6 separate regions of the Homo sapiens genome follow, and regions 2, 3, 4, 5 and 6 are each linked to region 1. The links are contacts of gene promoters, found by promoter capture Hi-C in blood cells and fetal thymus (Javierre and others, 2016). All regions are on one chromosome and are shown on one strand. Each heading gives the region's core, a stretch centred on a gene start or on the middle of the fragment in contact. The rest is flanking DNA. Distances are from core to core; before and after follow the strand shown.

What was found. Contacts are between HindIII fragments. The CHiCAGO score rates a contact against its expected background, and 5 or more counts as called.
Region 2: a contact is called between a fragment that was not itself captured here and the fragment with the promoter of RSL24D1 in region 1, in 1 of 17 cell types (non-activated CD4 T cells). The highest score is 6.3, in non-activated CD4 T cells.
Region 3: a contact is called between a fragment that was not itself captured here and the fragment with the promoter of RSL24D1 in region 1, in 1 of 17 cell types (M0 macrophages). The highest score is 8.1, in M0 macrophages.
Region 4: a contact is called between a fragment that was not itself captured here and the fragment with the promoter of RSL24D1 in region 1, in 3 of 17 cell types (M1 macrophages, M0 macrophages and megakaryocytes). The highest score is 7.7, in M1 macrophages.
Region 5: a fragment that was not itself captured here is called in contact with the fragment with the promoter of RSL24D1 in region 1 in 1 of 17 cell types (M1 macrophages); the score reaches 5.6 in M1 macrophages.
Region 6: a contact is called between a fragment that was not itself captured here and the fragment with the promoter of RSL24D1 in region 1, in 6 of 17 cell types (non-activated CD4 T cells, total CD8 T cells, naive CD4 T cells and 3 more). The highest score is 12.1, in non-activated CD4 T cells.

Annotation. Positions count from the first base shown.
Region 1 is chr15:55,195,032-55,199,721 of GRCh38, forward strand. RSL24D1 (ribosomal L24 domain containing 1) reads right to left here and starts at 1,910. Exons shown (of 6, transcript NM_016304.3): 1 at 1,779-1,910. The coding sequence starts at 1,859. RefSeq lists enhancers at 1,030-1,921, 1,715-1,874. The HindIII fragment of the contact is 1,416 bases long and covers 1,896-3,311 here.
Region 2 is chr15:56,727,480-56,732,169 of GRCh38, forward strand. All of the region lies in intron 1 of ZNF280D (zinc finger protein 280D), which reads right to left. Among named protein-coding and RNA genes, the nearest start is that of ZNF280D, 3.7 kb to the right of the region's middle. The HindIII fragment of the contact is 981 bases long and covers 2,181-3,161 here.
Region 3 is chr15:53,951,925-53,956,614 of GRCh38, forward strand. It overlaps a transcript of UNC13C not described here. Among named protein-coding and RNA genes, the nearest start is that of UNC13C, 24 kb to the right of the region's middle. The HindIII fragment of the contact is 1,160 bases long and covers 1,624-2,783 here.
Region 4 is chr15:53,970,706-53,975,395 of GRCh38, forward strand. It overlaps a transcript of UNC13C not described here. Among named protein-coding and RNA genes, the nearest start is that of UNC13C, 5.4 kb to the right of the region's middle. The HindIII fragment of the contact is 756 bases long and covers 1,978-2,733 here.
Region 5 is chr15:54,117,966-54,122,655 of GRCh38, forward strand. The region is part of intron 2 of UNC13C (unc-13 homolog C); the gene reads left to right. Among named protein-coding and RNA genes, the nearest start is that of UNC13C, 140 kb to the left of the region's middle. The HindIII fragment of the contact is 978 bases long and covers 2,238-3,215 here.
Region 6 is chr15:56,247,075-56,251,764 of GRCh38, forward strand. It overlaps a transcript of TEX9 not described here. Among named protein-coding and RNA genes, the nearest start is that of RFX7, 5.5 kb to the left of the region's middle. The HindIII fragment of the contact is 3,453 bases long and covers 830-4,282 here.

The DNA.
Region 1 (4,690 bases), core at 660-3,159:
AAAAAAAAAAAAAAGGCTAGATAAGAGGCTATAAAAGTGGTAAGAGCCTAATCTGAACTAGGACAGGAAAGTAGAAAGAAGGCAAAGACACCACTATCTTTGCAGAGGCAGGATAGGTAAGACTTGATAACTAGATACAAAAGGTGAAAAGATTCAGACGACTCTCATGTTTCTAGCAAAACTATCCGGGCACTTAAGAGTGGTATTAATTCACAGAGCAAAAAGATCTGAGGTACTAAGGAATTCTCTTTCAGTAGGCCCACTGTACCTACTGTTAGGTACATCCAATGGAAAATTCAGATTTGGAGCTCAGGAGATTTAGGTTTGGAAATCAAGCATAAAAAAAGATGAGATACTTGTTCTTTGTTAGTGCTTCAGGCCCTCTATCTTTTATTTCCTCCAACAACTCTCTTCTGGATCCACTGGTGACTCCCAACCAACTCAACACTGTCCTTATTCTTCATCAACTTAACTTCCACTGTGTCTACCAAATCAATACCCAGGTCTTGACAGTTCTCACGATCTGTTGTTCTAATTCCAATATCCAGCCGACAAGCATCCTGGACGAAAATCACAAAATCGTAACGACATCATGTATAAAACCATACTGCCTACTCTGAATTAGACCCCAACCTGGCAATCTTTTGGTTCATTTTTATAAACTTCTTATCATGTTCCTGAGAGCAAGTATTCAAAATCTTCTAGGTTCTTTTACGTTATCAAACATGGCTTTGGTCCGTCACTTTCAGCTGAATCCCTTGGATCTAATTAATGAGGTCAATATCTTTGATCTGTTACAGAGATATAAGGTGAAGAAGTCAGACTTGTAATTATTTAGCACGTCAAATTCACCTTAATATACAGATTCTTAGACCCTCTTCCCCTCCCCCAAAGATTCCAACTCAATAGATCTGGTGAAAACCAGGAATCTGTAAACGCCCAGTAATTCAGAAGCAAACGTAAGAGATCAAATTCTGAGAAACAATGTGTTTCTCTGAGAAAGAGAGGAACGGGATTCATTCTGTAATGACAGGACAAATTCATGTACCATTCAAAACGTCTTTCACAACTAGGACTCATATTTATTATTTACGTTTACAGACTTATTATACTTGTAGCCCTACGCCCAAGGCTCTATCATCATTTACAATCCAGTCACTTCCTCAAACAAATGTATTTGCTCCGTTCTCTGCCTTTTCTCAAAATGTTCACTTTCCTTCCACTTAGAAGGCCCCCTCCGCTTTCTTCCGCAAAATTCAGGATCCAAGATAAATATCACCTCTATGCTGAGTCTTTCCGTACAGGACCCTCCCCAACTCACCTGCAGTAACTTAATACATAACTCTACCATTAAGCAATACGGAACACTTCCATCAACCTCTACACTTTAGTATGGACCTTAGTGTAATGCCTGACAGGGTATACACTCAACAAAGTTTACTGGATTCAAGAATTTGGCCCAAGTACATGAGTGGCCAAACAGCCCTCACAGACATCCAAGATTCCTGGTAGGCGCTAGCTGGGATCGCTCCTGAAGTTCCTCGCTGCCAACGCCACCCAAGGGTGGCGTGGTGGCCAGCGCCGCTCGGAAGACGGGCAAGGAGAAACCCCCGAAGCGGAACGTTGAGAACGGAGGCCCAGTTAAGCCACCCTCCCAGGGGAACAACGGGAGGAACCCGGGCCAAACACGGCAGACGCAGAAGCACCCAGCACCGAGCCGCCGCGCCCAGGAACCGCGGGAGCTAGGCTGAAGCAAGAACTGGTGTCGACCGCCTTACCTTGCAATCGTTGCGGACGAACATCATGCCGTGTCCAGGATAGATGGGCCCCGAACAGAAATAACACTTTTCGATACGCATGTTGAACCCGCGTGTAACCCCACCAAACAAACGCCAAGCTTGAGAGGAAGTGATGCAACCCCGTCACCGGAAGTTACCTTCTTCCCCCTTCCCCGACCGGAAAAAGGCAAGCGTCCTTCGTTCTCGCGGGTCTGTTAGACCAGATGCGAACACGACTGTGCCTCCGGCGGCCGTGTGGTCAAATGCGCTGCCGTTTGACGCAGGCGCAGAGCTGCAGACTAGACCTGTTCGCTGTTACTTTGGGGAAATGTGGTTCTGCGCCACCTTGTGAACTTGCTCTCACAGCGCCTAGTTTTTTCTCTCTGTGTGTCGGCATTTATGCAAGTATTATGTATCTTTGGTTTGTGCTTTGCCTCGGAGTGCTCTCGAGAGCACTCTCTTAACTCATTTGTCTACTGCCTGCCCTAGACCAGCCCTCGATTCTCGTCCCACAGTGATTTGCAGGGTGTAAGCGGCGAAGACCCTGCAATCCAGCGTTGCTTCGAACATTGCAATGAAAACGGTTGAGTTGCTGATGCTCCAAGGACTTTACCAGCAATTTTTTTAAATATAAAATCGTGTTATCCGCCTCCCCCCCATTTTAATTAATATGCATATGTAGTAAACAAATATTTTCGCCGGAAACTACGACTCCCTCCCTAGACCTGCGGTCTTCCTCCCCAGGGGCAAAACAGTTCCATTTATTACCTGCCAGAGCTTTTCTGTGCATAGGCAAACATGTATATTTGTGTGTTTGCCTGTCTCTACGTCCTCTTCTTTATAATACTAGTTAATATGCTATTTACTCTTTTCTGCATCTTGCTGTTACCTTGTATCCCTTCATTGGAATGTGAGCTCCATGAGGGGCAGGGATTTCAGTTCGTTTGGTTTACAACTACATCCCAGTATCTAGAACAGTCCCTGGCACATAATAGGCATTTGATACATATTTTACTGTAAAAGGGTATTTAACATTCTTTTTCATATATATATGCCATTGTATGAAAGTATTTTAATTGGTCACTAATCGATGGGCATTCTTATCTTTTGATATAATAAGTATCTGTTGGTACGCTTTTTCAGGAGAGGGTTTATGTAGAACTGCTGGATCAGAGGAGCTGGATATAGATAAATAGTTTTAAAATTTGGCAGATAATACTAAATTGCCTTCCAAAAGTTTTTACCAATTAACACTCAGCATCAACAAATAAGATGTCTGTTTCACTACCCCGCTGTGAAAAGTGATCTTTGCCAACCTGAGATGAAAATTTATCTTATTATTATTTCAACTTGAATTTAATTACAAATGATGTTAAGAATCTTTCACAATGTTTTTCAGCTTTTTTCTGTGAATTGCCTGTTCAGGTCCTACGCAGTTTTCTATTCTTTCGTTGATTTTCAACAGCACTTTACACGTTAAGGTTAGTCCTTTGCTGACATGCATTTAGAAATTATTTCCCTATCAATGTTTTAAGCTTTGCTCATGGTATTTTTCCATGCAGAAATATGTTGTTTATATATTCAGATTTATCCAATTTTTTTATGATTTTGGATTTGGTACTTTCCTTTAAACTGCACTTCTCACTCCAAAATTGTTTTTCAAAATGTTTTCTCTTATGTTTTGTAGTTTCATTTTTTTGCATTTGAATTTTCAACTCGTCTGGAATTTAAGTATAAATGACATAAGACTCCAGTGTCTTTCCCTCAGTGCTGTATGTTGATAAAGCATCCTTTCCCCCACTCACTCATAATGTCACATCTATGGCTCCATTTCTGGACTCAGTTCCATCGTTTTATTTGTTAATGTGCCACTGCCCAAATATTTAAATTATTGTCATTTTTTGAATAACTGGGTTTACCTCCTCTCCCTTTCTATTAGTTTTCATGCTGCTGATAAAGACATACCCTAGACTAGGCAATTTATACAGGAAAGAGGTTTAATGGACTCTTTATGGCTGGGGACACCTCACAATCACAGCAGAAGCCGAGGAGGAGCAAGTCAGGTCTTACATGGATGGCAGCAGGCAAAGAGAATGAAAACCAAATGAAAGGCGAAACCCCTTTAAAATAATCAGATCTCGTGAGACTTATGCACTATCATGAGAACAGTGTAGGGGAAACTGGCCCCATGATTCAATTATCTCCCACCAAGTCCCTCCCACAACACATAGGAATTATGGGAGCTATAATTCAAGATGAGATTTGGGTGGGGACACAGCCAAACCATATCACCCTTCCTTCCTTGTCCTTCTTATTCATTTTTTATCTGGCTATTCTTCAACATTTATCTTTTCATTTTAACTCTAGAATCAGTTTGTATAGTTATAATCTTCAAATACACACATTTTTCCTTTTATTGGATACTTTTTCTTGTCTAGTCATTCGACCAGTAATTCCAGAGTAATGTTAAATAACAAAGGCACATACCAGAAATTTTAGTAATAAACATCTGCCCAATACTTTATTGTCAACCAAGAGACTGAAAATTATTTTACTTTTCTTTACTCTTCCTCTCCTATCCTCCTCAACAATTATGGAAGAGCCTCACCAATCTTTGCAAACTTTACACAGTTCCTTCCCAACTCTGTTTGTTCCTACTACTTCACCAAGAAATTTTATACCCTTCCCATATACATGAACACCCAGGTTTACCCTCTTACCTTTGATGTCAGAGGCCACATCATTTATCTGTGTTCTTAATTTCATACCTTAAGGCTTCATCTGAGACTTTGTTCCCTTCAGTCCATGAACATATTCAGTGCTTCACTTTAGAATGAGTGTGTGTATAGCCAGCCTTAGAAATTGTTTTTTTCTTTCCATCTATTTTAATGGAATACAAGATTGAACTGAAA
Region 2 (4,690 bases), core at 1,421-3,920, 1.5 Mb after region 1:
AGATAGAAATTAATGCCCTGCTACTACTAGGCAAATAAGGGGAGGGCACAGAACTCTTCCAGCATCTACTGACTCTCAATTGCCTTCAACTCAAAATAATCCTCATGCGTAAGTGGCAGATTCTGATCCCCTTCATCTGTTTCTAGTTTTCACTGAATACAATTAAGAACTCAGACTTCATTTTCTGCCCAAAATGGAAGAGAAGAAAATTAACAGAGGAAGGCATTTCACAACTATTAGACGAACCAGAAGATTAACACAAAGATAGACAGCAGCACTTTAGACTCTTAATGATGGTAGTGAAAATGACTTTATAAGGGAAATCTCAGACTGAGTCCTTGGATGAGTTACTTTAGATAAATTCCCTCAAACTTAATCAATGAGAGAATAACGTATTTCTAAAAACAAAAAGGAAATACGGCATTCTCATCCAGTGGGAAGAACTTCATCACACAATATTTTTACATTAAGAATATGGACCATGCTGTTCTGCTCAAAGAAAATGTGACAGTCTTTCATCCTTTACAAGTGTGTGCTAAAATTTTACTTAATACATTTTTTTTTTTTTAAGAGACAGGGTCTCACTCTGTCACCCAGGCTGGAGTGCAGTGACACAATTGCAGCTCACTGCAACCCAGACCTGAAGCGATCCTCCCACCTCAGCCTCCCAAGTACCTGGGACCACAGGCACATGCCACTACACCCGGCTAATTTTTTATTTTTTGTAGAGACAAGGTCTTCTTATGTTGCCCAGGCTAGTCTCAAACTCCTAGGCTCAAGCAATCCTGCCTTGGCCTCCCAAAGTGCTGGGATTACAGGCATAAGCCACCACACCCGGCCTTGATACAACGCTTAAGTGCCCAAGTATTGAATGCAGGGGTATGCAAAGGTGACTGGAAGGAAATAGAAAATATAGACATTTTAAAAAATTCATTGGATTGATCATTCTAGTTAGTTGCTCATAAATCTGAAATTGAAAAATCTTGCAATTGTGGAGCAAAGAAGATGGCCGTCCTGTCTTCAACAAAATTATGAACCATCAAAGGTTTCAAAAATTCTTCCAGTATTGCATTTTGATGATGTACATGCAAAAAGACAACCCAGAAGGAATGACAAGCAAGAACCTATCAGGGAAGCATTTGAAATTTAGAATCAGTATTTATAAGACAAATAGTTCCAGGGTCTTGTATGAAAGTTGCTAAGTACAGACAGTCTCCAACTTAAGATGGTTCAACTTACAACAATTTTCAACTTTATAATGGTGTGAAAGTGCATTCATTACTTCCAGTACTCATACAACCATTCTGTTTTTCACTTTCAGTACAGTACTCAATAAATTACATGAGATACTCAACACTTTATTATTAAAAAATAAGCTTTGAGTTAGATGATGTTGCCCAACTGTAGACTAATATAAATGTTCTGTGCATATTTGAGGTAGGCTAAGCCAAGCTACGATGTTCAGTATGTTAGGTGTATTAAATGCATTTTCAACTCATGATACTTTCAACTAATGACGGGTTTATCAAGGATGTAACCTATCGTAATTCAAGGAGCATCTATAGTTAATTCCATTCAGATGATGTTGCCCATTTCAGGTAGAAATACCTTCAAAAGGTGAAAAACATGAAATGAAAATCTGAGCAACAGGTGACAATGAAATATGATAAGCTTGGACAATGCAGATCTACACAGAGATTGGGAAAAGGCATGAAAGTAGAATCAAGATTGATATATACGAAATGACAGAAAAATTTCAAAATTCTGTCAGACATATAACTTGTGACAAATTTTTTACAAATTTAGACTTGGCTGAATATCACACAGCATCAAACTCTCCTTAGTTGGCACTGTTAGGAAGAACAGCATTGAACTTCTGTGAATTTTCACAAATGGAAAAGCAAAAGAAGTCAACTGCACAAAATCTGGATTTCGAATATAATTCATGATTCTTATTGTCCTAAGGAAAACTATACCTACTCTTCTCAGCTCAGTGCATTCTCAACCATCAATGAATTTTAAAATCCTTGCATAAATTAATCTGAAGTGATCTGTATTACAAAAAGACTACAGAAGTGACACATTCAAAAAGTGGGTCAGAAACAATACTTGGAAGAGAATGATTTGAAGATGGCTTATGACTGATATTAGTTCAGAGTATACTTTCATTGTACGGGAAAAGCTTCAGTTACAAAACTGGAAGTTACCAAGAAGAAATTCCTCATGCAACTAGGAAAATAACTTGCAGAAAATAGGAAGGGAATGTTGTCTTACCCTCTAACCACAATGATTTCTGCACAGATCTGAAAATGGGAAGAAAGAAAGATGTTCTTTGTACAGATACAGAAACTCAAAAAGAAAAAAATGTGTGTTACAATGAGAATGTTTATGCAAAGCGTTCAAATGTGATGTATATTTGTTGTAGGAGTGTTATGTAATTAAATGCATGAAATAGATTTTTTATTTTTTATTTTTCTAAGTACATACAAAGATATCTGCTGTATTGAAATTCTTATTAAAAGCTCCAATAAGTTGTTTTACATTATGCTTTATTTTTACTCCTATAAATTATACATAATAACGTAAAATGCAAAAAAAACCAGTCCCTTTTGACCCAGATGATAGTGATAATTGTACACTTTTCCTCGTATACTGAGGGTTAAGAGAATCCTTAAAATTGCTCTGGAGAAATAAATCAAAATTCTAAACATACAATTTTTGATATAAGGCACTGATTAAATCAAGTCATTATTTAAATCACTATTTAAAGCAATCTGAAAATTCAAAGTTTTTAATTCCTTTCTAAAGCAAGAAAAAAACTATTCAGGATTTATATATTTAATTAGTGAATATGTCGTAAGTATTCCTCATCTTCCAAAACTTGCTTTTGGAATAACAAAGTATGTTGTCAATAGAAATATCCAATTTCCTGTCACCTAAAACTACAGTTGACTTTTCATTTGTGAAAACTGCTATTTCAGTGAGCCAATGCTGATTAATAGAACACTGGAATGAAAAAGGACTGGATTAGTAGCCTAACTGGACAGATGTTCCAGTTGAAGCACTTGCAATCCTCCAACATCAAACTACTTCAGAACTTTTCTATTTACCATAGCTTACTATGGCTAAAATGGTCCTAAGCAAACTTTCAAAGAAGGCAAAGCTTTCTGACATCTACTTTCTGCCTCCTCTCTCCTAGTCTCCCTAGGCTCTGATGCCAACACATAGAAGCATTCCAAGTTCCCTAAAGTAGATGGGTTAGTATTTCCTCCAGAATTGTCTCCACTTCTTCTTCTTCCTAACTTCCAAAGCCATACCTAAACGACTGCTCCCAACTGTGTTTATCAGATTACTGCAGGTAAATTCCTACCAACTACTAATGCCAAAATATCACACCACAAATGACTTGCTAATTGCAGAAGGAAATGCTTACAATGGAAAGATAGCTTGTCACCACCTTATCTAAGAGATCAAATTTAGGATTATTAATAAGACAAGCCTACTTTATGTGCCTTTGGATGTTGTATGCAATGAAGCATACTGCATGGCTTATGAAGTATTCCTGTCAAAAAAATATTAAACCTAAATATATTCAAGCCTTTAGACCCAAATCCAAGTTTAGAGAAAACAGAGAGGATAGGGGGAACAAATTTAAACACTATCAGGAGGAACTATCACTAAAACATGGAATATGGGTTATTCTGAAAGACTACAGACCAGGTCTCTTCAAAAGGTCAATTTCGCCCAGTGCTGTGGCTCACATCTGTAATCCCAGCACTTTGGGAGGCCGAGGCAGGTGGATCACTTGAACCCAGGAGTTTGACACCAGCCTAGGTAACACGGCAAAACCCCATCTCTACAAAAAATACAAAAATTAGCTGAGTGTGGTGGCGTGCTCCTGGGTTCCCAGCTACTCAGGAGGCCGAGGTGGGAGGATGGCTTGAGCCCAGGAAGGAGGTCAAGGATGCAGCGAGCCAAGACTGCTCCACAGCGCTCCATCCTGGGACACAGAGCAAGTACCTATCTCAAAAAAAAAAAAAAAAAAAAAAGACTGAAAAGGAATTTTGAAGAAATGGGGGGAAATGTGAATATATACTACACCACGTTAGATTTTAAGGAATATTCTTCACTTTCTTAAGTGTGATTGCGGTATTGTTACACAGAAAAATGGCCTTGATCTCTTACAAAATACATACTGACACACATACAGCATTTAGGGCTGAACTGTCATATCCGTAATGCACTTTGAAACGTTCAGAAAACAGAATGTGAGATAAGTGGAAAAATGCAAATATGGCAAAAAGGTAGCGTTAAAACTAAGTGTTCAAATGGGCTATTTAACTTTCCAATATTTTCGAAAAAAATAGCAAGTTGCAAAGTTAAGAAATTAACTCGAGAATAAAAATATAAAAGCCAGGCTAGATGGTGCACACCTGTAATCCCAGCTACGGAGGCTGAGGTGAGAGGTCAGCTTGAGCCCAGGAGTCTGAGACCAGCCTGGGCAACATAACAACCGCATTTCAAAAGTAAAGTATAAAAATATCAACGAAAGGGCAACTGAGTAATGTTTCTTAAAATCTTTAAGTGAGCCTCCTTGCCTATTCTCATCTACCTCATTCCCACAAAAATGGTATATACTAGAGTTGAGCACCGGAGAAGGAGTCAGAAGACCTAAGGTTCTATTAATATA
Region 3 (4,690 bases), core at 954-3,453, 1.2 Mb before region 1:
AACTTTTTTCAAGTGTATTTATCCCTCAAGCCTCTGTAAATGGAAAACGTTGACTGCAAGGAACAAAGCCTAGCAGTGCTTTGCATAGCATCCTATACTGCGTTGGTTTATGTATCAGCAATAGGATGATGTGAGGGTTTGGGCAATGCTGAGGCATGTAGTCATGAGCTGAGGTGATATTCTTAAGGCCAAGGACACAGTAAACCATTCCTTGGTTGTCCTGAGAAGAAAAGAGGGCAGTATTTCTAAAGAGTAGGGATTCTGAAGATGTTGAATACATTGCCCTAAAGGTGTGCTGATCTGGAGAAAAGTGGGGTGGTTAGGAAGTAAATGTGGCAATAGTGGCTAAAATTATAAAGTTACCTGGCAGGACAATATCATCTCTATTGGACAGAAAAGGAAATAGATTCATTCAGCTTTTGACTTGCTTGCTCAAGGTTACACACAAATAAAAAGGCCAGATCTTGAATTCAGGGTTTCTAACTAAATAATTCTCCCGTTCATTCTCTCTTCCCCCATCAACTCACCTTCTAACCTATCAATTAATTTATGTTACTAGTTATCAAACATTTGAGTACCAACTTTTGTACCCAAATAGTTCTCAAATTTTGATGGTTATTTGAAACACCTTGGGACCTTTAAAAAATACTGACTTCTTTCTGGCTGCCAACATGGACTTCGTAATTTAATTGCGTGGGCTGTGATCTGGGCATCAGAATTGTTTTAATAAAAACTCGCCAGATGATTTTAATGTATAACCAAATTAGGAATCCGCTGTGCTGGCACTTGATTGAAGCTAGGCATAAGATGACCCAGGCAAACTGATGCTCTTAAAAATTGTAAGGAAATAGGGGATTCAAAGTCCATCCTTCTTACTTAAAGTATACAGAGAAAACATTTAAGCATAGGGGCCTATGGTGTTCATAATATTCAGGGCATACGTAATAAAAGTTTCTAAATGTTGCAGTCTCTTAGAGTGTCTAATTTTTTTTTCCCCTGAGCGGTTTGGGGATGAACACAGCAAAATAAGATTTCTTCAGTGTCTTGTACTTATGTGAAGTGTACAGAGTGAAATATATGCCACTTCTATGTTCGAAACCTGAAGTGAAATAGATATGAATAAGTTGTAATTGAATTAGCACCTCACAACAGCTGCTTTCAGGGGGTAATTTAGGCTTCTTTTTATATCATGCTTCAGACTTTGATGTGATGAAAGGATTTCGGAATGTACTTTCAGAATTCTTCTTTTCCTCAGAGTCACATGGTTAAATGATCAGAGATCACATTTTATTTCTGTGTGGAAAAACCTCCATTAATCTGATGCAAAGTAGGCACTCTTGAATCCTGAGGGAAATGAGAAGTGGCTTTCCTTTTAAGAGCTTGCCAGCTAAGCAGGCAGCTAGGCTGTGCCCATGGGCATCTGCCTCGTGGTGCTCCAGGTGTTTCTCCTCAGGAGGGCCCCAGAAGTCAAGGCACATTAGCAATGAGTCTCCAACTTCTGTCCAATTCAACCCTAAGGACTCTCTAGATCCAGGGGTGTTTCTGGAACAGTAATATTAAGGCATCACCCAAGAGTATTACAAGAGGAGCAAAATAGAGATTCTCCTTTGCAGACTTGAATAAAGCTTGAACCAGTTTGCTGTAAACATGAATGCATTACAAATTGGGGGCAGTTGCTTTGTGGCAGAGACTGGAGGCAATGGCTCAGAGGCAGAATGAATATTCAGATATAACCTGCATGTCCAACAGCCTTTGTTATTACATATGCCAGCACATTAGATATTAATTTAACCTGTGAGGTCATAGAATCAGAAGGGATGATATGAAGAGATCACAGGGCTTTCTGATTCCCTGTTAAATTGCCTCTAAGCTATTTAACATTTAGGATTTATAAGTTTCCACATCACAAAACTCTCCTTGCTCTTCCATCTGCTGGAAGCAGTGTCAGAGCACAGTCCAGACCTGCTTGTTAATTGGTGGATAGATGCTACGTGCAGTTGGCATCAAGACTTCCATGGTGACTGTAAGGGACAGAGTACAGCCAGGTTGGGGGTGCAGGGCTCCGAGCTTCATAGTGAAGGAGCAGCAAGGCAGCACAGCTTTTCATATCCTCCTTTATCTTTGTCTCCTTTCTTTCTCATTCATCATTTCCTATCCATCCTTTAAAGAGCCTGAATTTCTTGTATTCATGGATTGTAAATGGAAAAACTACTAGGTGCCCAATTTTACATACAGAATCTCATTTAACACAATCTGTTGGAAATGGTTATCATCAGCTTATTGTTTTCCTGCTGCATTCTTACATCATGTTCCATGTGCATATCTATAGTGACACAATGTTTTCTCTATTTGTCCCACTAGAGTGTGTGCTTCCTGAGAGAAGAGACAATGTTTCTTTCTGAACTGTTACTGTTAAGCACAGCAGTTTCATATGATGATAGATGCTGGGCATAATTATAAATATATTTAAAAATTTAGTACCTGGTATTTGCCAAGGAAGTAAATATTGAGTGAAGAAAGAAAACTAAAGTCCAAGAAGTGGAAAAGTGTTTTACACAAAGTTACACATAGTTATAAATTGATTCTAACCCCAAAGCTATCATCCTGCTATTATGCAGTCTCCTTTGATGAAGATGAAATCCAACATTAGATGTCACCGTATGTTTTCACAACTTGCTATTGAGTGAGCTGCCCAGGTTTTGCCGTCTAATTATAGGCTTCAAATGGGGTATGAGTTAGATTGGCCTGTTACAGAGTTAGGAATTTAGATGGTTCTCAGGGCAAGCTTATAAAGAAATAGTGATTTCCCTTAATATTTTGGTTCATGTTTAAGAGAGAGGGCATTCTCATTCTCTCAAACTTAAAGGAGAAGCTTTATATGAATTACAAAATGCTACGGTTAAGTTTGTGCTTCAAAAAATACAGTAAATAGACTATATGCTTCTAGCCTTACACAGAGTATCAGTGTACTATTAGGTTGTACCATTAGGCTTTCATAACGAAGTCAAAATGACCAAGGCACCAGCATATTTTCACAGTCCAGCTATAATGCTAAGAAATGAGCTGGCTAGGACGTATGAAATTCAACTTGTGGCTCTACTTATAACATTTTCATGACTATAAGAAGAGAACTGGAACATAGATGTTCAGTAGCATAAGTGCCAGAATAGTGCCATTAAGTGCAAAGCAATTTCAGGTGAACATACATTTTGATTGCAAGCTATCTAGATAATATCTTCAATTATCTATAGTATTTCCCCTGCATAGCCACAGATGCTGAATTGCTTTGTGAAGATTTCCACTTCCTTTTGTACTATGATATCAAAGCTATGACTTTTTCTTACACACACACACACACACACACACACACACACACATAAAACTAGGAGAGAAATCACAATGGGAAAAGAACAACTTAGAAATAGTTTTTGATACCAAACATACTGAATTAAGAAATAAAAAATTATGAGATGGGGTTATTAAAAGACATGATTTTTCAGCTGCTGTATTCTTGTTATTTCATTAGAAAGATATAAGTAGGAATTGAGAAAAGTTGAAACTGCTCCAGCCAAAAAGATGTAGGTAATTAGAGCAATCTACCCTTGGCTGAAACACAATGAAAGTGACAGGGCTGTTGAAATTCCATCTCTAAAGCCTTTAAATACAGTTTGAGTATTTTCTACAGAAATTTGAGGCAGTGATAATGTGTAGGGATATAAATGGGAAGTGGCAGCAGCTCAAGAAAACATGGAAAATAGAGTGTACAGAAAGAGGATTGGTTTTAAAAATCTGGAGGCTTTAAACATGCTCCATCAGCTGGTCTAGTGATAGCACAGCCACTTACCTTCCCCATTCTGATGCCTCTTCATGCTGGCCATTTTAATCCGATTTCACCCATTTAAGAATACTGAGGAAAGAAAATAAATTGTTCTACCATAAAGACACATGCACTCCTATGTTCACCACAGCACAATTCTCAATAGCAAAGACATGGAATCAACCTAGGTTCCCATCAGTAGTGGAGTGGATGAAGAAAATGTGGTATATATACACAATGGAATACCATACAGTCATAAAAATAATGAAATCATGTCCTTTGCAGAATATGGATGTAGCTGGAAGCCATTATCCTAACTGAATTAATATAGAAACAGAAAAACAAACACCACATGTTCTCACTTATAGGTGGGAGTTAAACAATGGGTACTCATGGACAAACAAAAGCTGACAACAGTAGAACTGGGGATTCCAAAAGGGAGGAGGAGAGGGGCAAGGGTTGAAAAATTAACTATTGGGTACTATGGTCAGTTCTTTGGTGATAGAATCAATCGCATCCCAAACCTCAGCATCACGCAATGTACTCAGGTAACAAAGCTACACGTGTACCACCTGAATCTAAAATAAAAGTTGAAATTTAAGACAAAAGAATATTTAGGGGTGGGAAATTCACATAGCAAATATGTATTTGCTGCCTATAATGCCTCCACCGGTGCCAGCTGCTCAGAAGGCTCAGAGATCAAAAACAGATGTACACCATTTTGCCCCAAACTCTTGTTCTTAACTTTTATGTAATCAGGTCTTAGATGGGGTTTGTCTATAAAACAAAACAGAGAGGTAAAGAGGTTTAGGGTATAGCAAGAGTGTTACTTAGAACAGAAGCTTCATAAGTTAGCAAGTGAAAAAGGGAGAA
Region 4 (4,690 bases), core at 1,106-3,605, 1.2 Mb before region 1:
AGGAAGAAAAGCTGAGGGATACTGGGCTTAATACTTACGTGTTGCGTTGATCTGTGCAGCAACCACCATGGCACATGTTGACCTATATAATAAACCTGCATACCCCACACATGGATGCTGGAACTTAAAAGTTGATTAAAAAATAATAATTCTTTTGGATATATACCCAGAAATGAAATTGCTGGATCGTATGTTTATTCTATTTTTGAATTTTTGAGGAACTTTTCTACTGTTTTGCATAGTAGCTACACCATTTTTCATTTCCACCAACAGTGAACACAGGCTTCAATTTCTCCACATCTTGCCAATACTTATTTTCTCTTTGTGTGTGTTTTATAATGGCTACTCTAATGGGTGTGAAGTAATATCGTGGTTTTGATACGCATTTCTCTAATGATTAGTGATGTTGAGCATAATTTCATATTCTCATTGGGCATTTGTATATCTTCTTTTGAGAAATGTCTATTCAAGTTGGCAAACCACACAATGGATAAATGACAGCCTCTTCAACAAATAATGTTGAGAAAACTGGATATGCTCCTGCAAATGAGTGACATTGGATGCTTACGTTACACCATGTACAAAAATTAACTAAAAAATGGATTATAGTTTACAATGTAAAATATAAAACTATAAAACCCCTAGAAGAAAACATCAGGGAAGAGCTTCAAGACTTTCTCAGTGATTTGTTAAATATGACAGTAGAAGCACAGGCAACAAAAGCAAAAGTAGACCAATTAGACATCAAACTTAGAAACTTCAGTATGATGAAGGAAACAGCAAAATGAATAGGTAACTAACAGAATGGGAGAAAATATTTGCAGGAAGAAAATAAAAATGGAAGTATTTTTATTTTTTAGTATAGGATGATTCATTAAAGTCTCTACTAGCTGTTGGAATTTCAGTGTTATAAGAGGGCAATATTTTAGAGTAGAAGATCTTTCTGGAGTTTTAAAAAGTATACTTTCTTTTAAGAAATATATCTGGAAACTGGAAAATTCATCTATATGAGAAAGATTTTATTATCTCCCTTTTAATTCTTACTATGATCCTATCAGATACTGTTCCCTTCTAGCATTTCCAGAGGTAAGTATCTCTTCCTCTAGCACCTATTTATAAAATGACAATGATGGTGTTGATAAAAGGAACAGCTGATACTGTCAAGTACTTTAAATTTTTAAGTCATTTGGTTTTTACAACAAAAACATGAATAGGTAACACTCTTTATTTTCCTTCATTTTATAGATGACTCATAAATCAAAATTACCAACTGCAAAAATACCAGTTAGAATTATTTTTAAATGACTATGGGTTCATTGTCTTGACTTCCTTTTCCTCCCATGTGATATATTTTATTAATTTGTGATTTAGCTTTTGGTACTTTATAGAGCTTTCTCTCAATAGAGATTGACAAAGTAACCAAAGAGTTTGCTGAAGGAGAGAGAAAAAACGGCAAAGACCTGGACAGTGAAGGGTTCTGAAGAAAACATTACTTAGCTCACAGCTGACCTAGAGTCAACCCTTCCGATGCTTATAAGAGCTTCTTTTTCCCTGGCCCTAAACCAGAAATTAGGGTTTTGTTTTAGCTTTTGCCCTTCTGGGCTCTACAGAACATGTGGACGTGCTCTTTGGAGATAACAACTAGGAAACGGGAGAATCTGAAACCCTGTAAAAAGAAAGGATGCTATGTCCAATCATATTAAATAAAGTGCTCTATGTGGATCTATTTTGATACAAATATTTTAGACCATTTCAAAGAAATATGTTCTTGACTTGCTTCACATTTTATACACATAGTAGGCAGTTAGGTGGAAAGGTCTTTCAGTATGATTCTTGGTTATAACAAGAAATTGGGTAATTAAAATATCTCTAGTACCAAATATAGTTTCTAAAAACCTGTTAGACAAAGGACATCGCCACAAAATTTTGAATCCATGCAGTTTGTGGTCAATAATAATTCTCACCCAGTCATCAGGAAGCTTCTGTCACGGTTATTTTCACTGCTCTTGGGGTCATCAGTGCATATTGAATAACTCCTGAATGATTGGCATGTGATGTTATTCACATTTGTACTCTAGCCTTCAAAAAAAGGAAAGGAAGTCATTGTTGTTTTCTTGGAAGAAAAACCCAATGATCATTTATCACTGTGTACATACGTATTTAAGACATTCATCCTTTCCAATATTGAACAAGATTGCTCAATATATACATCAACTTTATTGTCAAGCATGGAAAAATGTCTAATGTACATAAGACATTTAGTGAGAATATGAATTATTAAGATTATAGTTTTCATTTTTGTCAAGCCAAATTGAAATTTGCATTTGGAAATCTGTAAAGAATAGAAAAGGAAAAAAGAAATAGACATATTGAACACATACAGAAAACTGAGGCTCAGGGAGATTACATAAATAGCATATGGCCATACAGGTGGAAAGTAGTGGAACTCTGAATCAAAGAATGGCTCTTTGGTATTCTAAAACTTATTAAGAATTTTAAAACATTTACTCCTCTGGAAACGTCGCCATTATGAATGGAGGGCAGATTATAGTAGAAAATGACAATATTTGGTAAGAAGTTTAATATATTGATTATTGCTAGCTAATATTTATTGAGTACCTACTACATAATAAGTATATACTATCTAAGTTGCTTTACATGGATTATCTCATTTGATTCATCAGCAAGAGTATAAATAGAAATTACATTTATACCTATTTTGCAGATAAAGCAAGCTTAGAAATGTTAAGAAACTTTACTAAAGTCAGAAAAATAGTACTTGCTAAAGCCCAAATTGGAAACCAGGCACCCTGATTTCAGAGTCTGAGCTCTTCAATGCTGTGCCATATCACTAAATCAGTTTCCTGAATCAACAAAATTAAAAAAAAAAATCCAAAAAGTGGAAAAAAAATTTTTACTTGAGGTCATCCAAATGCTGTGTCTTTTAAAAAATTTAGAACCTCTTTAAAAGTCCCTTCATCTGATGATTTGCTGGAATACAGTGCTGACACATTTTTAATTTTACTGAAGGAAATAAAAAATGAACAACAGAATGAAAGTATAGATGCCGTCCCACCAAACAGCATTCAACATCAAATGATATCTATCCAAAGTCTAACAATCATTACCCAAGCAGAAATATTCTAAAAAAGTGTCTGCTTGAATAATTTACTCCATTTAATTATTAATTTTTTTCAAAAAATTACAGATTGTGCCATTTATTATGCTTGTATAAGTAAATACTTGTCTGCTTTACAGGGGAACCAGTTTTGAAGTAGACGTTCAAGGCCTGATTTTTAATCCAGTCTTAACCACTTACTAGTTCTGTACAACCAGATAAGTCTTGCAAGACTTTGAGCCTGTTTCATCATTACAATATGGGAACCATATAATACTACTATAATGTTTTGCAAGTTTTTAAAGATAAGTATCAAATAAGAAAATGTATGTAATAACACTTTTAAGGGTGTTAAGTTTTAGACACTATTATTGTGTTACTGACTCACTATTGTTGGAATATATAGTTAGAAGGTTTGTTCTGGCACAAATTTGTGAGACAGCTGGTGAGAACTAAGGGCACCATTTGGACCAAGAAATAGAACAAAGCTAATTGGCTACACAGGGACTCAACCCGTGTCCTTAGCCTCATTAACTCTGTGCTTTACTAAGCAAGCACACTATTATTCACTCACTCATCAACCTACCTTTTATGAGTCTAGCCTTCAGCTGGGCATTGGTGATATAAAAATGAATGAACCATGGTCTCTGCCCTCAAGGAGCTCGCAGTCCAGCAAGGAAAATCAGGCAGATGAGTAAAATAGTAGTTAGCATACTGTATAATAAATCAGTGCCACAACAGAGATTTATGAAAGCGCTTAGAAGGCACTGCCAATACTGACTGGAGAAGTACAGCATCCATATCTTGTGACAGAATTTGTTGAGCCTAAAATTTTACTTCTTAAATCACTTAGATGCATTTAAATCCCACAGTTGAAAAATAATCTCATTCCTCAGTTGGAAAAGTCAAAAGCACTTTTTTTTTTTTTTCATTTAAACAATGAACATTTATTATCTCACAGTTCCTGTGGGCCAGAAATTCGAGAATAGCTTACCTGGGTTTTTCTGCCTCAGGGTTTCTCATGTGGTTGCATTTAGCATGTCAGCAGTGGTTGCAGTCATTTGAAAGCTTGAACATGGTTAGAGGGTCAGCTTCTAAAATGGCTCATTCGCATGCCTGTTGGCAGGAGGTCACAGTTTGTGTCTGGCTGTTGGCAGGAGTCCTTAGTTCCTTGCCACGTGGACTTCCCCCTAGGCTGCTTGAGTATCCTCATGACATGGCAACTAACTTCCTCCAGAGTGAGCAAACCAGAGTGGGCAAACAGGAAGTGGCAGTACCTTATGTGGCCTAGTCTCTAAAGTTACATACTGTCAATTCTACTCAAAAGTGCCATTTTAAAGTGACCCATACTTTAATGGAAAGCTTTAATTTAAGAACAGAACTTAACGTGTGTTTTACTACCATGTAATCTATGCTAGGCACATCTTTCCAAATTGCATAAGATGGTTTATTTCCAAATAGTCGTTCTCCTATACATTATTTACTTATATAGAGCTAGAAATGCCAACTTGCTGTTTTAAACATAATCATATTTTTCTCCGTAATTATCTGGACAACTAATCCATTTTGCCA
Region 5 (4,690 bases), core at 1,477-3,976, 1.1 Mb before region 1:
GATTTACATCTGGCTTCTCTCTTCTGTTCCTTTGGTCTGTGTGTCTGTTTTTATGCCAATACCATGCTGATTTGGTTACTATAGTTTTATAGTATATTTTGAAGTTCAGATAATGTGATGCTTCAGCTTTTTCTTTATTTTCAGAAAAAAAAAAGATTGCTTTGGCCTTTTGAGTTCTTACGTGGTTCCATATAAATTTTAGAATTGTTTTTTCTATTTTTGTGAAAATAGTATTGGCATTTTCATAGTGAGTATATTTAATCTGTGGATTTCTTTGGGTACTATATTCATTTTAACAATATTACTTCTTCTAATTCATGAACATGGAATATCCACTTTCTTGTGTCCTCTTCAATTTTTTTTCATCAGTGTTTTTTAGTTTTTCTTGTATAGATATTTTACTTCTTTGGTTAAATTGATCCCTAAGTATTTTCTTCTTGTAGCTATTTTAATTGGATTGCTTTCTTGATTTTTTATTCAGATTGTTTGCTGTTGATATATAGAAATGATACTGATTTTTGCATGTTGATTTTCTAACCTGCAACTGTACTGAATTCGTTTATCCCTTCTTATAATTTTTTGGTGGAGTCTAGGTTTTTCTAATATAATATCATGTCATCTGTGAATAGGGATAATTCAACTCATTACCTTCCAGTTTGAATGTCCTTTGTTTTGCTGCCCTACTTACTCTGGCCAGGACTTCCAGTATTATATTGGATAAAAGTGGTAAAAGTGGGCATCATTGTCTTGTTCTAGGTTTTTGAGGAAACGCTTTTAATTTTTCCCTGTTCTGTATGTTAGCTATGTGTTTGTCATTTATGGCCTTTATTATTTTGAGGTATGTTTTTTCTATACTCTGTTTGTTGCGGTTTTTATCATGAAGGGACGTTAAATTTTATCAAATGCTTTTTCAGCATCTATTGAAATGATCTTACGGTTTTTTTTTTTTTGGTTCTGTTAATGTGATGTATCACATTGATTGACATGAGTATCTTGAACCATACTACTTGCATCCTAGGAATAAATCCCACTTGATCATGGTGAATGAGTTTGGAAGTATTCCCTCCTCTCCAGTTTTTTGTTTTTTTTTTTAAAGAATTTGTGTAGAATTGCTGTTAGTAGTTCTTAAATATTTAGTAGAATTCAGTGGTGAAGCCATCAGGTCCTGGGCTTTTCTTTGATCGGAGACTTTTTATTATAGCTTCTATCTTATTACTCAGTAAAGGAAAGCTGAAAGATATTGCGTTTTTTTACAAATCAAAGGTCTGTGGCAATCCTGCATTGAGCAAGTGGTTAGGCAACATTCTTTCAAGAACAGTCTCACTTCATGTCTCTGTATCACATTTGGTAATTCTTGAAATATTTTAATTTTTTTCATGATTATTATGTGTATTATAGTGATCTGTGATCAGTGACCTTTGATATTACTATTGTAATTGTTTTGGAACACCGCATACTGTGCCCATTTATAATGGTGAACTTAAAAAACGTTGTGTGTATTCTGAGTACTCCACATATAGGCCATTAGTTCTCTTTCTCTCTTTTTTGGCATCCTGATTTCTGCAGACACAACAATATTGAAATTAGGCCAATTAGTAACCCTACATTGGCCTCTGAGTGTTTAAGTGAGCTGAAGAGTCACACATCTCTCACTTTAAATTGAAAACTAGAAATGATTAAGCTTAGCGGGGAAGGCATGTCGAAAGTCAATAGGCTGAAAGGTAGGCCTGTTGTGCCTGTTAGCCAAGTTGTATAAGGAAAAGTTCTTGAAGGAAATTAAAAATACTACTTCAGTGAATACACAAATGATAAAAAAGCAAAACAACTTTATTGCTCATATAAAGAAAGTTTTAGTGATCTGGATAGATCATATCAGCCACAACATTCTCTTCCTTAAGCCAAAGCCTAATTCACAACAAGGCCCTAAGGCTCCACAATTCTATGAAGGGTAAGAGGAGTGAGGAAGCCACAGAAGAAAAGTTTGAAGTTGGAAGAGGTCAGTTCATGGAGTTAAAGGAAAAAGCTCTCTCCATAACATAAAAGTACAAGGCAAAGCAAAGAAACAAGTGCTTATGCAGAAGCTGCTGCAAGTTATCCAGAAGACCTAGTTAAGATAATTGATGAAGGTGACTACACTAAACAACAGATTTTCAATATAGACAAAACAGCCTTCTATTGGACGAAAACGACACCAGGACTTTTAAAGCTGGAGAACAGAAGTCAGTGCCTGGCTTCCAAGCTTCAAAGAACAAGCTGATTCTCTTATTAGGAGTTAATGCAGCTGGTGACTCTAAGCTGAAGCCAGTGCTCCATTTTGCATTCTGAAAATCCTAGAGCCTTTGGGAATTATGCTGAGTCTACTCTACTTGTGCTCTGTTAATGGAGCCACAAACCTGGATGATAGCACATTTATTTGCAACGTGGTTTACTGAATACTTACACTGCTCAGAAGAAAAAGAAAGATTGCTTTCAAAGTGTTACAGCTCATTTACAATGTACTTGGTCACTCAAGAGCTCTGAAGGAGATGTACAAAGAGATTAATGTGTTCACACCTACAAACACAACATCTATTCTGCAGCCCATGGATCAGGGAGTAATTTTGACTCTCAAGTCTCATTATTTAAGAAATACATTTTGTAAGGCTATAGCTGCCAAACATAGTGATTTATCAGATGAATCTAGGAAAAAGTCAATTGAAAACCTTCTGGAAAGGATTCGCCATTCTAGATGTCATTAAGGCCATTTGTGATTCATGGGAGGAGGTCAAAATACCAACATTAATAGGAGTTGGAAAAAGTTGATTCCAACCCTCATGGATGACTTTGAGGGGTTCAAGACTTCAGTGAAGGAAGTAACTACAGATGTGGTAGAACTAAAAAGAGAACTGGAATTAGATATGAAGCCTGAAAGTGGGAGTGAATTCCTGCAAACTCATGATTAAACTTCAGTGAGTGAGGAGTTGCTTCTTATGGATGAGCAAAGTAAATGGGTTTCTGAGATGGCATCTACTCCTGGTGAAGATGTTATTGAACATCGTTGAAATGACAAAGGATTTAGAATATTACTACGTAAATTTAGTTGATAAAGCAGCAGCAGCGTTTGAGAGGATGGAGTCCAATTTTGAAAGAATTCCTGCTGTGGGTGAAATGCTATCAAACAGTGTCACAAGGTACAGGCAAATCTTTCCCAGAAGGAAGAGTCAATGAATGTGCCAAGCTTCACTGTTGTCTTATTTCAATAAATTGCCACAGTCACCTCACACTTCAACAACCACCACCCTGATTAGTCAGCATTCATCACAATGGAGGCAATAACCTTCATCAGCAAAAAGATTACAATTTGCGGAAGGCTCAGACGATTGTTAGTATTTTTAGCAATAAAGTATTTTTAATTAAGGCATGCACATTATTTTTTAGACCTAATGCTATTAAACTAGGAAACCAAAAAAAGTGTGTGACTCACTTCATTCCAATATTTGCTTTATTATGGTGGTCTGGAACTAAGTCTGCTATGTTTCTGTGGTATGCCTGTGTGTGTGTGTTTTGTGGCCCTCTGTTTTGTTGCAATAATTATTTTTTAAATGTGTTGTATGACAATATCATAGTTTCTCAATTATCACAGCTTTTTAATTTCCCTTGATATTTAATAGGGCAATGATGCTCTTCTTTTTCTTCTTTTTTCAGTGTTTGCTTGACTATTTTTGTAGAAGTCTTTCAAAAAAATCTTATCGTGTTATTGATTCTGAGTGTATTGTCTTTATATATTAATTTTTAGAAGACTGTATCTTTATATACTAAGCTTTTTACCTATAAAATTTTGTCAGTTTATTCATGTATTCTTTTATCTCTTTCAAAAATGCTTTATATTTTTCTCTGTAAAGGTATTGCACTGCTTTTGTCAGATTTATCTTATGGACATAATATAATCATTATGTTATTGTGAATGAATTATTTTTGTATTGTATTACCTATTTTTATCATTAAAATATGGGCATAGTGTTAAGTTTTTTATGTTGATCTTATATGGAGTGAACTTAACAAGTATTCTTATTGATTTTAATAGGCTGTCTATAGGTTGCTTTGGACTTTTTAATGTAGCCAGTAATATTTGCTAATATGGCAGCTAGTCTGTAAATTATGATTTTGTTGCAATCTTGTTCCATTTTTTTTTTCTTATTTCATTAGTTAGGGCTTTGGGGCACTTTGTTAAATTGTAGAAATGATAACAGTCCTATGTGTCTGATTTCTGATCTTACACTTAATAATTTCTAAATGGTGTACCATGTTTTTAATAAATACATTTCATCAGATCAAGGAAATTTCTGGAGATTTTCTTAGTTTCTTAAAATGCTTGTGCTTTGTTTTGGTTCTTTAGTTAGTTTTTGGTAGTTGTGAATAAATGTTTAATTTTATTAAAAATAGTTTACTGTATATAATGAGATAATTTTAGGTTTCTTTTTTCAATCCTTTAACATGGTGAATTGTACCAATAGATTTTTAAAATTGACTTATTTGAGGTATAATCTCTCTGTATGTATAACGCATCCATTGTATGTGTGCAGTTTGATACATTTTTGGCTACCGTACGAATCCTTGTAGCCAATTTCACAATCAAGATAGAAAAAAAAATTAATCACCACAGAATGTTCTGTCATGCCCCCTTGTAGTCAATTATCTTTGCTGTGAAGGC
Region 6 (4,690 bases), core at 1,306-3,805, 1.1 Mb after region 1:
TGGAATTTAGTAGTTAACTAACCCTCATTTTCCTAGCCCAATCCATTATATTGTCTTGCTCTCTTGTGTCTGTAAACCTTGTCTCCTTTATGAAACTGTAAACATTTTATACTGTCCAGACTGTAGTATATACATTTATCATGCCTGATATATAGCAGTATTGGGCACGGAAAATATGAATAAATAAGACCTGGCCCCAACTTGAAGTAGTTTACATTTTTGTGAAGTAGAGCAACATATTAACATATATAAGATGATGAGTTATAAACATATCCACTAGTGTTGTGGAGTCATAATGGAGGGAGGGATTGGTCTTGCTCAGGGTAGAAGAACTGGAGAAGGCATCATGGCTGGCATTTTAATTGGGTCTTGTTGGATGAATAGGAGTTGAGTAGGCAGAGCAACAGAGGGAAGATGATTTCAGATAAAGGGAGTAACATGAGCACTGGTGTGAAGCCATGAAAGGGTACTGTTTGCTGAAGGAATAATGCATAGCACGGTGTTGACTCTGTGATCAGATCCTAAAGTAGTATAGGCGAGGGAAAAGAAGGAGAGAGAGACAAAAACCCACTTTACAAAATGTTACTTTGCATTATAGTTAGGATCGTTCTATCAAAGGAAGGCCTGAAAGTCGGTTTCATTATTGGTACATACTGATTAAGTGCTGAAAGTATACATTTCACTTCCACAAAGTATGGTGGTTTACCAGATATGGAAAAGGTAAAGTTCTACCCTGTTCTCCTTCTTTCCCAACTTGAATATAAAAATAAAATACTCCTCTCATCCTCTTTTCCCCTGATCATTACTTCCTCTGTCTTTTTCCATTGCAAGCTTTCTCCTCTAGAAGCTGAAAGTAGAGTTTAATGACCTACATGTTATTTAAGAGAACAAGGAAAGAAGGCTTTTCACCTCTCCCAATTCTTCCTTGATAGCAGAAAGTGATGGATAATTTCTTTCAGCTAAGCTGTTGTCTTTCAAAGTGCAAGTAGTCCTAGGAGGGCTTATATATATATAAGTTTCAATGCTGTAATGTGATTGAGCTTTCTTTCAGTCTTTAATAGCATTAGAGAGAAGAGGATGTGGGAGGGAGTGAAGAGGAGAAAAATAAAAGCAGCAGCAAGATTACAGAAGAGGGAAGTTGGGGGGTTCAGAACTAAGTTAATATTGGCAAATTTTGATACATGTTCTCAATACCAAGAGTGCTAATGTAAGTATGCTGTGAAAATGTGAATTCTTCTGTTAGAGCACAAATATGTCATTATGTCATTAAAACAATGTATAGCCCAGTGTTAAGGCTAAGTAGCCTAACTATTCAAATACTGTCAAGGCAGCAGACTGTTAACACTGTCACTACCTGGCTATGTGACCCTATCTGTACAAGTCATTCTTTCAAGTACCTTTGCTTATCTCTAAGGATTAGTGGGATAAAGTTCACATAATATACTCAGCTCTTCAAGTGAGTAGTATGATGAAACAAATGCTAGATCCCGCTTTGATTTCACTTAGAAATTTTCCACTGTTGGTACCATATACATGTTTATGTTGTAACTTTCAATTCTTTTACATTAAAGAAGGTTCAAGTTAATATCATCTACATACATTTTAAAGGAAGTGTTTACTTTAACTTGGGCCAAAAAGTCCCAAGTAGAAATTTGATATCTTAGAAATTCAGGAAAGGAGTGGCTGTGAACAGAAGCAGATAAAGAAAAACACTAAATTGTGACACTAAAAGTGTTTTAGTTATTTACTTAACACTAAAAGTGACAATGAAAAGACACCAGAGCCAATCCCACAGTGAGGAAGTCAGTGCCAGTGCAGTCTGAACAGGTGGGGCCTAACCAATAATTCACAAGGTCGATCATTCCTCCATTCCTTTCAAGGCACATTCGAGAACCTGCTATGTACAAGTTACTATATTGGGACCTTAGAAAGATTAAAAAATAAGTAGTAAAATATTGTTCTCATTTTCAAGAAGCTCATAATCTAATTGGAACACTACACATGTCAGCCCATACATATTTTTAAAAGTGAAATAAAAACACAAAAAACAAACAAAAGGTGTGTGACAGGATAATTTATTGAGCTATTTATTTGGGTTTTATGCTCCTTATATTTTCCCTCCCTTCCATTCCAAGCAGGCTTCAAGGGAACTTTGTGTTACTAGGCAGAAAGTTGTCTGACAAGAGCTCTCTCTTAGGCAACTCCAGGGGGCACCATTCACATTTTAAATGAAGCCTCCTGGAACAGGACTCCTTAGAATGCAGTGTCAATGTTATTTCTGGAATTGGACCCAGCAATCTGTCTTTCAAGTTTGTTGCTCCTTGAGGAGATGTTGCTAGGGGGTTAAAAAGGTAAGCACATCTGGGGAGAGAGAGAGAGGGAGGGAGGGAGGGAAGAAAGGAGGGAGGGAGGGAAGGAAGGAAGGGGCGCTGAGACAGGTGGATCACAAGGTCAGGAATTCAAGACCAGCCTGGCGAAGATGGTGAAACCCCGTTTCTACTAAAAATACAAAAATTAGCCGGGCATGATGGCAGGTGCCTGTAATCCCAGCTACTTGGGAGGCTGAGGCTAAGGCAGAGAATTGCTTGAATCAGGGAGGTGGAGGTTGCAGTGAGTCGAGATTGTGCCACTGCACTCCAGCCTGGGCGACACAGTGAGGATCTGTCTCAAAAAAAAAAAAAAAAAAAAAAAAAAGAGGAAAGAAGAAGCATCTATGGGCAGGTGGAATTACAGAAAAAAAAATTCCCATGAGCTGTAGAAAATCAAAGATTGGGGTTCCAGTAGTAAGAATAAGAGTACCCCAGGGAGATACTCTAACCTCATATGGATGCACAATGCCATTAGGGAGGCTGGATTCCCTTGCCTCTCTTGGCCCATAAGTGGAGGAATTGCCAGTGAGGATGTCAAAGTCCATCTTCCATTTTCTAGGCTCAACATAAGTCTTTCAAACCCTACTGCAGTACTAGGAAGAGAGGAAAGCCCAGTAAGAACTGAGATTGGATTTCCTTCTACTCCAGCAGAATTAAGGCTGAGATCACTTAAGTCTGTGGTAAATTTAATTTGATTTAAAGAATAGTGACATGTCTTGCACACCCAAATTTGTACTTGCAAATTTATACTTCCTAGTGGTGGATGCTATATAAAAAAGACACTGGTAGGTGAGATATATAAGATTAAAAACCAGTGAATGGCGTAGCTAATAACTGCTAAGGAAGTTTAGAGAAAGAGCAAAAGGAGCTAAAGTTAAAAGTGGCGTGGAGGACTTGGGATGGAGCTAGAGTGTGAGTAAAATGAAGGATTTATAAAGGTGGGAGAAAGAATGGAGACAAGTCCGAAGGGAAAGGCAGTGTGAGTAGAAGCAGGAAAACGAGCATGCAAATGACAAGACACACAGAAGACTGGTCTAATTGGAGTGAACAGCTGATGATAAAGGTTATATGGGGTACCAAATTCCGAGTGTATTCAAGCTAGTCTGAGGAGTTTGTGCTTCCATACTGTGTACAAAGCGAGGTTCTACGAGAGAACAAGTAGTAGGAGATATATATTTTATATTTGTATGTTTACATATTTTAAAGGAATTGGCTTATGTGATTGTGAGGCTGGCAAGTCTGAAATCTGTAGGGAAGGCCAAAATGCCTTGCATAGTGGATGCTGCAACCCACAGGTGAAATTTCTTCTTCCTTAGGGAAAAAAAAAAACAAAATAATTCAGTTTTGCTCTTAAGACCTTTCACCTGATTGGATGAGACCCACCAAAATTATTTAGGATAATCTACTTAAGTCAACTGATTGTAGCTAATTAACCACATCTGCAAAATACGTACCTTTACAGCAACATCCAGCTTAGAGTATGATTTGAATAGCTGGGTATGTGTCAACTTGGCTAGGCCAAGGAACCATGACACTTACCACACTCTGTAAGTCACTCCTCATGTATTTGAGAAGATGTCTTTGGATTTTCTTTATGTGGATCTCAGGAAAGGTAATTTCTTATGAAGTGGGCCAACCTGTCTCCTTTCCAAGAATAGATCTACTTTCTCTGCTCTTCCCTGTACATAAATGTTTATTCCCAAGGATGAATTTCTATTTTTCTTCATCCCTTTTTCCCTTACCATCTCCTGAAGTTATGCCAGTGTTATATTGTGGCTGATGTTAGTATGTTTTTGTTTTCTCCGTTTAAAATGCCTCTAATTATGCCTGTAGTGTCATTCTCCTAATTCAGCAAAGCCTCAGGTTGTCGGCCATATCCACAGTCACCCTCCAAGCCTGGCTCTGTTGATGTAAGCTTCCATCCTTGTCTCTTGTAACCCTGGCCCCCTAGTTGGAACAGGGCTCAACATTTGACACCATGACAATCAATCTTCCGGCTAGACAGTGGCTTATGAGCTGACTCAATAAAACCTTTGCCCAAGGAAGATGTTAGTAATTAGCTAACGGATTGATTCCTTTTTTGGAGAGTATGAATATGATAAGGAGAGAAGGTTAGGCAGTTGGGAGTAAAAACAGTAGCTGAAAGATACACAAGAGAAAGCTAACCTCAGAAACCATTAGACAACAACCAGAAGAGGCAATGATTAAGCAGAAACTGTGTGAAGAGGAGCTCAGAGGGCTTAAAGAAGATAAGATAATGGCTTAGTGTTGATAGGAGCAGTAGGCCCAGGGAATGATAGAAGCTGAGTAAATTTCCTCAT